Regions from separate parts of the Homo sapiens genome. Here region 2 is linked to region 1. The links are contacts of gene promoters, found by promoter capture Hi-C in blood cells and fetal thymus (Javierre and others, 2016). All regions are on one chromosome and are shown on one strand. The core of a region is centred on a gene start or on the middle of the fragment in contact, and the rest is flanking DNA. Distances in the headings are between cores, read along the strand shown. Region 1 holds the start of PTPRU (protein tyrosine phosphatase receptor type U). Region 2 has its middle 340 kb from the start of LINC01648.

Region 1 (5,126 bases), core at 1,946-4,445:
GGCCAGGAATTTCCTTCTTCCTTCTTCTCTCAAGGATTATAGAAGTCTGTGGTCTTTTTTTTTTTTTTTTTTTTTTTTTGAGACAGAGTTTTGCTCGTTGCCCAGGCTGGAGTGCAATGGCGCGATCTTGGCTCACTGCAACCTCCGCCTCCCAGGTTCAAGCAATTCTCCTGCCTCAGCCTCCTGAGTAGCTGGGATTACAGGTGCCCGCAACTACGTCTGGCTAATTTTTGTATTTTTTTTTTTTTTAGTAGAGACAGGGTTTCACCATGTTAGTCAGGCTGGTCTCAAACTCCTGACCTCGCCTCTGCCTCCCAAAATGCTGGGATTACAGGTGTGAACCACTGTGCCCGGCTGAAGTTTGTGGTCTTTTAAAAGTAAAGCAGAAAGTCCTCTTCTCATCTGTCTACCTGTTGCTTGTGTTCTCTTTCTCCCTCCATTATAGTCTCTGCCATCTTCCCCTGCACAAAGGGCAAAGGGATGTGGAATCAGTCAGATCTGGGTTCAAATCTAGGGCCCGCCGTCTATTTACTAGCTGTGTCACCTTAGGCAAGTGTCATATGCTCTCTGAACCTCAGTTTCCACACCCGTAAAATGGGATCACTGGTAAAACTCCTATTTTGAGGCTCTCTCAAGAGCCCTCTGCAAACAGCACCCTTGGTTGTTTCTTCTGTTCACTGGTTTTCTCTCCTTGAGTTTCCTTTTCTGGGTGGGCCTCTCTGGCTCCTCTCTGCTCCAGCGTCTCTGTATCTTAGTTTCTTCCCTAAGGTTTCCCCTTGGTTTCTTCTTGCTTCTGCCTCCCTCTCCCTATTTAATTATCTGTGTCTAATTCTTGCCTGCTGTGTCTTTTGGTCCCTTTCCTAACTCAGTGTGGAGCTCATCAGCTCTCACAAGAGAGGAGACCAAGAGCCCAGGAACTCTCAACCCAGCGATACCTCCTCCAGCCCCAGGGCAGCTTCAAGGTGTGTCCATCTCAGCATGAAGCCAGCTAGGAGGGGCAGGGCACAGGGAGGGCCTACATATACCTTGAACTCCTACGCTTTGTTCAGTGTCACTGCCCAGTGGTCAGACCCATCTGCCCATGGCTTTCCCTACTTCAGCAGTCTTTATAGCTGGAGCTGTAAAAAAAAAAAAACAAAAAAAAAAAAACCCAGAGATCAGAACTTATTACTCCTTATTACTCCTCTGCTTAATTACTCCACTTCAGTGGCCTCCCATTAATTACTCTTAGGGTTGAACCTCAAGCCCCTTCCTTGCTCATAGTTTCTTGCCTGACCTACAGACCCTGCTGACTTGTCTAGCTGCACCTGGCTCCCTTCTGCCCCTGACTCACTCCATGCCAGCTGCCCGGCTTCCTTGCAGCTGCTTGTACCCACCAGCTCCTGCCTTTGCACAGGCTGTCCCCTCTGACTGCAATGTTCCTCTCCACTGATTTGCATGAGGTTGGCTCCTTCTCATACTTCAGGTCTCAGTTCAAATGTCACCATGTCACTTCTATAGCAAAGCCCTCTTGGACCACTTATCTAAAGGAGATGCCCCTTCCCTATGTTCTTTATCATTATACTCCCTCGTTTCCTTTAGCTTGCATATCTTAGATGGTAATGATATATTTATGTACATGTTTGCTGTTGGGCTCTCCTAATAGAATGTAAGATTCATGAAGGCTAGGACCATTTCCCTTTCATTCATTCCATCCAGTCAGTATTTATTGAGCATCAATTACGTGCCAGAGGCCGGGCGCGGTGGCTCACGCCTGTAATCCCTGCACATTGGGAGACTGAGGCAGGTGGATCACCTGAGGTCAGGAGTTCCAGACCAGCCTGGCCAACATGGTGAAACCCTGTCTCTACTAAAAATACGAAAATTAGCCGGGCGTGGTGGTGGGCACCTGTAATCCCAGTTACTTGGGAGGCTGAGCCAGGAGAATTGTTGGAGCCTGGGAGGCAGAGGTTGCAATGAGCCAAGACTGCGCCATTGCACTCCAGCCTGGGCAACAAGAGTGAAACTCCATCTTGAAATAAAATAAAATAAAATAAAATAATAAAAACATGCCATATACTGGGCACGGAAATACAAGATGAGTCTTTTCCCAAGGGAGCTCATTTCTAGAGGTGGAGACAGATAATGAACTCATCATATAGCCCGCACTCTATTTGAAATTGCAACAATTCCCCTTCCCTTCCCTGTCCCCCCACCACCCCCAAATTTCCTGGTGTATGAGACAGTGATAAAGGACGTACACCAGAGGGTTTGCTTTTTTGTTTTTGTTTTTTTGGTTGTTTACTGTTCTTGTCTTCCCACTGGAATGTAAGGTCCATGAGAGTAGGGAATTTTTGTCTGTTTTATATCTCTACCCTGGCCTATAGTAATTGTTGAATAAATGAATAGACCCCAATAAATATTTGTTGAATGAATAGGTGTCCAGATGGGAGGAAGGTCTCAGCCCCTATTCAATTCAAACCAAACAACTTTGATTCAAATCTCGGTGCTGTCAAATACTGTTGCATAACAGTATTTATGCAGTATAATTATTGCATACCTAATATATGATGATTAAATGAGTCCATGTGGGTTAAACACATAGAAGGTACCTGGTCTTACATAGTAATGAGCAACGAGTTTGCAGATCATAGTGCGAGGGCTCGTTCTGGGTAGAGGCCCAAATACATTTAACCTGTGTAGCCAGAAGGTAGAGTAGGACCAGTGAGGGCTAGTGAGGGAGGTAGACTTGCACGTCATGAAATGAAAAACTTTCTAAAAGCCGGCGTTTCCAAAGCCCCAACAACCGCTCTTGGCCAGGTGATGAGCGCCCTGTTCCTGGAGGTATGTAGAACACGCATTTGAAGGCGCCAAGGTACAAGGGATTCAGGCATCGGATGGGACAGAGGCCGGGTGTCCCTGGGTCACCGTCCCTGAGAGCGCTGTACGGGAGCTAGGCGTGGGCCATGAGCGTGCTCGCCTGGCAGTGTTGGTGCCCGGTCCGTGGAGACGTCCGTGGGCGTCCAGACCCAGCCGCGGGGCCTCATGGCGGGGAGGATGCGGGAGCGGGGGAGGGGCGCGCCAGGGCTAGCGGGCGGCCGGACCCGCTGCAGCACCCGCCGTGGCCAGCAGGGAGCGCCGCGAGACCGCCGAACCCGCGGCCGGGCCTGACGTCAGCGCCCCGCTTGCTCCGGCTCGCGCTCTGGACTCGGCGCCAGTCCCGCTCCGCGCCGCGCCGCTCCGCTCCGGCTCGGGCTCCGGCTCGCCTCGGGCTGGGCTCGGGCTCCGGGGGCGGCGTCCCCCGCGCCGGGCCCCGGGACGGGCGGCGACGCTCCAACCATGGCCCGTGCCCAGGCGCTCGTGCTGGCACTCACCTTCCAGCTCTGCGCGCCGGAGACCGAGACTCCGGCAGGTAAGCGCGCGGCGGCCGGACCGAGCCTGCCCCGCCGAGCCTCGGGGCCCGTGGCGTAGCTCGGAAGAAAGTGTGAGTGTTGAGTGACCGGGCGTTACGAGCGTGCTCCCTGTGTGTGTCTGAGCGTAGGATGGGCGATTGTGTGCCCGGGGTGTTGCGTGACTGCGAATGTTGTGTGTCCGTGAGTTCTGTGCGCAAGAAAAGGTGATGTGTGTCGGCGAGTATGTTGGGGGTGAATGTTGTGTGCATCGAGGCATTGGGTGTGCGCTGAGTGTCTTGTGGGTCTGCCAGTGTGTAGTGTTTGTGTGGCCAAGTGGGTTGTGTGTGCATCTGAGTTTGGTTGTGTTGCGGGAGTTGTATCTGCTAATGTGTTGCATTTGTTTGCATTTTGTATGCCTGGCCGGGAGTGCTGTTTGTTTTGTGTCTGCGAGTGGGTTGTGTGTTTGTGTTATGCCTGTGGCCAAGGGTGCTCTCTGGATCCCGCCTGAGTGTGGATCCGGGAACGCGTGTGTGGCGTGTGTGCTTTTGAGATCCGTGTACATGTGTGAAGGCGTGGGAACGGGTCCGGAACGTGTGTGTCCGTGCGCTGTGTACGTGTGGGGAGTGTCTAGGGTATGTGGTGTGTGCTGCCGGGGGCCGCGTGGGTCCGAGTGAATGCCAAGTGTGCCGGGAATGCGTGTGTGGGAGCGAGTCTGGAACGGATGTGAGTGTGTGCGAATGTGTCCGTGTGTGCTGGCTGCGCGTCCAGGAATGTTGCGAGTGTGGAGCGCGCCTGGGCCGCGGCTGCGAGTGTGCCCTGGTCCCGGGGCCGCCCGAGGGGGCGGTGGCAGGACGTGTGTGCGCGCGTGTGCGTGTGCGCGTGTGTGGCGCGCTGGGCCGGAACAAGTTGTCGCGGCGGCGCCCCCTGGGCTGCCCGGGTCGGGCAGGGCCCGAGGCTCAGGGGAGGACCGGGCCCCGCGGCCGCCGCCTCGGGCATGTCGGACTGTTTGTTGTTTCGCAAGTTCCGCGCGGCGCTGGCGGGCGGCTGATCCGAGGCGGCGCCGGGGCTGCGGGGCGCCCGGGCCAGCGGGCCCCAGCGAGGGGCCGGCGGGCGGGCAGGGGAGGGCCGGACCGGCGGGCGCTCCTGCGGTGGCCGGGCCGCGGCTGCGCCCCGGGCGGCCGGGCGGGGGCTGTCCCCGGGCTGGGCTGCGACGTCCGGGCGCGGGCAGGGCCTGGCTCGCCGCCGGGGGACGGCGCCCCCTCCCTTGGCGCGCAGGACGCGCGGGGGACGCCCGGGCCTCCCGGGACACTCCCTTGGTGGAGCCTGCAACTTTGTGCGGCCTCCCGGCCGGCCGGGACCGCCAGGTGTGTGCTTGAGTGTGAGCGTGAGTGTGAGCGTGTGGCTCCGCGCTTGTCTGCTGTGTGGTCGCGTTCTCCGGGTGTGTTTCGGAGTCTGGTGTCTTTGGTGTGCGTGCGCGTGTGTGTGTGCGCGCAGCTGAATGTATGTATACGGAGCCTGTGTTTGTGTGTCCGTGTGCTCGTCGGAGTGTGGACGGTGTGTCGGATGTGTGTGCGTGCGCGTGTTCCACATCCCACCCTGAGGCCTGGGATCCTAGACCGCGGCCCCTTCCCGCGGAGTTTCGGGGCCCTGCTCCGGGTGACCTCCCCCGCCCTCGCCACCGGCGGGGCTGCTCCGCGGGCTCCGGGTAGCCGGGAGACGCCCGGGGCGGGATCCGAGCCGAGACACGTGCTGGAG
Region 2 (4,534 bases), core at 1,504-4,003, 470 kb after region 1:
CCGGGCTCTGTGGTGGGGTCTGGATGGCCACAGGCTGCTCCGTTGCAGTCTGACTACATCTGAACCCCTCTGTGCCCTGGCGGCCACTCTGCCACCTCCCTTCCTGGCTGCTCACCAATGTCGAGAACTTGGGCTTTAACTCTGGATCCCCTGAACCACATTCTCAAAACCCACGGCGCCCTTTGGGTGCTAAGACCCCCCAGGGTATCATCTTTTTTTTTTATTCCTCCTTCCATTCCCTTCCAGGCATCTCCCCCATCACAACACTGGTCCACACCTCCTTCAGCACACTCCTGTGGGACCTCCTAGCCTCTCGTCTCCTGCAATTCATGCAGCAAGATCTTTCTAAACCAGCTTGGCCACATACCTCCTTAAGATCCTGGGATCGCCCCTCTTTGCTCTAAGGATAAGGTCTGTGCTCCATAGCATGACTCCTGCCTGGGCTACAAAGTGAGACCTTGTCTCTTAAGAAACAGAACAAAGCAAAGCATGACTAATGATGTCATTCAGTCATTCAACATATATTGAATGAGTCCCTGCTCTGTGCCAGGTACTGGGTATAGAACAGAGAGAAACAACAATTTCTGGCCTCAGAAAACTTATCTTCTAATAGGCAGAGATGGGCAATAAACATCTAGATTAAATGTATTGGTAACACAAGGACAAGTGCAATGGAGAAAAATAAAGCAGGGAAGGGGCCCAGGAATGTGGGGAGTTGCGGTTAACACAAATGTTTTTGCAGACTTAAAGGAGGTTAAGTGGGGAGCCCTGTGGATGTCTGAGGAGGAGCATTCCAGGCAGAGGGAACAAGTGCAAAAGCCATTCAGTCCTCAATTTAAATATCAGCTCCTAAGACACTCAACCATCCCGTAGTTGAGTTAGTCCCTCTCAGCATCCTCCTGTGCATGGCATACTTGGCCCATCCTCAGGTGAGTTGCACTAATCTGTTGGGACTTTTTTTTTAAAAGGTCACATCCCCCTCTTGACTGTGAGCCCCAGAAGAGCGGGCACCTAGTCTGACTTGTTTATTTCTTACCCTTGCATCCATATATGCCGGGCACATAGTAGGTACACAGCAAATCACCCGGATGAAAAAGCAGAAAGATAACAATGGGAAGGAGCAAAGAATAAAAAAGCTCATGCTCCTTTAAATAGAGCAGAAATAACTCGGAATATTGTTGGTTGTTTTTACTTGTGGGATGGGAAGATTGGATTCTATCCTCCTATTCTATTCTATTCTATTCTATTCTATTCTATTCTATTCTATTCTATTCTATTGTATTCTATTCTATTCTATTACTTAAAATCAGAGCTAATAATTACAGCTCCCATTTCTGATTTGTGCCTTCTAGACTTAGCCCTGAAGGGAGGAACTGTTTCATATTTAATCAGTATTCGTTCTGGAATGCTCTTGGGGAAGCAAACTCACTTCAGGGCTGTGTAGTTGAATTCTCAGCAATGCTAATTAGATTGGGAAAGAGCCTGTGCTCACAGCAGGACTGCTGCAGGGTCACCCACTAACAAGCCAAGCCCCACCTGCCATCCAACTGCCCATACCTACCTCACCCTCCCTGTTCTCATCTCTCCAGCCCCCACTTCCATGGAGAGCAGAACCAGTCATACTTCTCATGCCTGTAATGACTGATGAATCTTCTTTGTGAGGAAGAATAGCAGCCAAAGTTCACAGGGGAAGTAGCTGCCCTCCCCACAAGTGTCCCTCATAAGCTTCCTGGAGCTGGTGGTGAGGGGTAGGAGGAAGAAGAGGGATGGGCAGTGGGAGCATCAGTAGATAATCAGCCTATTCCTTCTCCTGGTGGGGACAGGAATTCCCTTAATCAACTCTCTTCTCCCTATTAATTCTGCTCAATCCAACCTGTTTATTATCATCACCATCATCACCATCATTTTAACTACCAGGTCATGGATGTTACTGGGTACCAGACAATTTAAACACAAGATTGCAAATACCAAAGGAAAACCTGCAAGACAGTATCATTATCTACATTTCACAGATGAGAAAACTGAGGCTTAGAAGGTAAAATCAAGTTGGGCGCAGTGGCTCACACCTGTAATCCCAGCACTTTGGGAGGCTGAGGTGGGCGGATCACGAGGTGAGGAGTTCGAGACCAGCCTGGCCAATGTAGTGAAACCTCATCTCTACTAAAAAATACAAAATTAGCTGGGCATGGTGGTGCATGCCTGTAATCCCAGCTACTCAGGAGGCTGAGGCAGGAGAATTGCTTGAACCTGGGAGGCAGAAGTTGCAGTGAGCCGAGATCGCGCCACCGCACTCCAGCCTGGGCGACAGAGCGAGATTCCATCTCAAAAAAAGAAGGTAAATTCACTGGTCCTATGGCTTGTAAGTTGGGGAGCGAAGACTAGAACAGAGGACAGTAAAGCCTGCATTCCGGCTTCACAGCTTACCAGTTGTGTGAGCCCCGGGCACCTGTCTTAACATCTCTGAGCACCAGTTTCCTCCTCTATCTCATTTTACTTCAAGTCCCCAACAATACTACAAGGTGGTGGTTAGACACTGTGTCCGTTTTGCAGATTCAGAAGCTGGGGCTCAGGGAAGGCAGAGCTTTGCCCACGTTTCAGCCGTCAGGACATGGTGGCGCTGGGATTCAGCCCAGGTCCATCTGATGGTGTTATCCCTTCTGCTGTCCTGTTTTTGCTGCACTCAGCTAGGTCTGTGGAGCAGTTTGCCTTCCCTGGGACCCTGGGGACAGAGGGCTTGCTCAGGGCTAAGGCGTATCTGGCATGTTCAAGCCCATGCCATGATGCTCCCTGTAGAGGGTCAGGCCATCTGAACACATGAACCCACAGGATGTGCTGCGGCATGTGCCAGACCATGGCCTGGATCTCCCCCAGACATCCAAGGGAAGGAGCCTCTCTCCTCTCCCCTCCCACCACCTTCCCTCCTTTTCTCTCTGCCTGGGGCTCATAGAACAGGGGTGGCTTGGAGGCTCTAGCCCTACACTGTCTGGGATGGACTCCTAGCTCTGCCATGTGCCCGGCAGGGTTTTTTTTTTGGCTGGTCTTTTCTCTTCTCTGAGCCTCACCGAGTGGTCTTCTCTGCAAGGAGAGACAGACAATAATGGCACCTGCCTCACTGAAAGTTGAGAGGGAGAAATGGGGAAAGACACACACACTGCTTAGCATCAGGGCTCATGCATGGGGACCACCCAGAACACAGCAGCTACTGCAATATTTGGATTTGGTTTGATTCTCGGGTCCACTTTAGAGGGTAGGCCAGGCCAAAAGTCCTTGGCCCCAGTCCACACAGTAAACTGTGGGAGATGTGGCCTTGGACTTGGATCAGGTGTTCCCAATTCCTTCTCTTGGACCTACCATGATCTTCTCTGTGACCTCAGACACATTCGCCTCTCTCTGTCCCTGACTCTCCATCTTGCCCTGAAAAATCTAGAGTAGAAAGATGACTTCAGGGCTCTCTGCCACCTCTAAGACCCCAGGATGCTGAGCTCATCTGAATCCCCATCTACAGAGGCACTAAAGCTCATTCGGCCCTATCAACATGTTTAAGGCCTGAAAAAAGTTATGAGATTCAAATACAAACAGAAAGATACAACCTTCAAATTGACATGTTTAATTAAATCTCTGCAAAATGTAACATCATCAACTGTCACTTTGTGCTCTCCTTGGCTCTTATGTAGTTATATACATACACTGATTTAATGTGCAATCTTGATATGTTTGATCTGATGGAGAAAGGAGCTTCTAAGAGTATGAAGACCTGGAGCTGGAAGAGGCCTTAGAAGAATAAAGCTTGAGGTGGGTGCGTGGGGTGGAGTTGGGGTTGGAGGAGAGCAGCTTGAGAAGACTGCATGGAGGAGGAGGTATGTGGCTGGGAAGGACATTCGTGGCAGAGGAACAGCATGTGCAAAGGAGCATGGTCTGGAGGGGCCCAGCACGCCTGAGGAGCAGGGACAAGCGATTGCACCTGCAGCATAAAGAGGTGTGGGGCAGGGAAAGAGGGGCTGGAACATAGGTTGTTCTTCCCCCTCTTGAGCCTCTCTCCATCCTGCACCTTCTTTCCCACCATTAGAGCCCAGCTCTGTTGGTGTCCTCACTGAGGCTAGGCTTGATGTCCTCGGCCATTGCAGAGGCCCCAGGCCTGGTTGGGTCTCTCTGCTGACTGCCGGGGCCTGGCTCGAGACTTCTGGTCCTGTCAACTCCACTTCTGCCCTCAGGGCGTTGGCATCAGAGGCAGAGAGGTAGGATGAAAAGAGAAATAGTTTAAAACACAAAACCAGCCCAGACTCCCTTCTCACTCAATTTCCAGAAATAAGCTAATTTCTACTTATTGATATCTCTCTCCGCAGACCAGTGTTTTAACTGAAAGAGCCCAAGTATGCCCTAGCAGTTGCAAGGCCATTTGGGAGAAAGATGCCCATTCTTCTGCCCAACCATAAAGTGCCCTTTGGGAAGTGATGGGAGCCTTGCAGATGTCCAGCTTCCTTGCTGCTGCTCCTTCCTGGAGCCCCTAGTGGCAAAGCTGGGGAATTATTGGTGC

What was found. Contacts are between HindIII fragments. The CHiCAGO score rates a contact against its expected background, and 5 or more counts as called.
Region 2: a fragment that was not itself captured here is called in contact with the fragment with the promoter of PTPRU in region 1 in 1 of 17 cell types (endothelial precursors); the score reaches 9.7 in endothelial precursors.

Annotation. Positions count from the first base shown.
Region 1 is chr1:29,233,327-29,238,452 of GRCh38, forward strand. PTPRU (protein tyrosine phosphatase receptor type U) reads left to right here and starts at 3,196. Exons shown (of 30, transcript NM_133178.4): 1 at 3,196-3,391. The coding sequence starts at 3,319. RefSeq lists a silencer at 2,999-3,318. The HindIII fragment of the contact is 8,758 bases long and covers 1-5,126 here.
Region 2 is chr1:29,699,223-29,703,756 of GRCh38, forward strand. No RefSeq gene overlaps it. Among named protein-coding and RNA genes, the nearest start is that of LINC01648, 340 kb to the right of the region's middle. The HindIII fragment of the contact is 2,061 bases long and covers 1,724-3,784 here.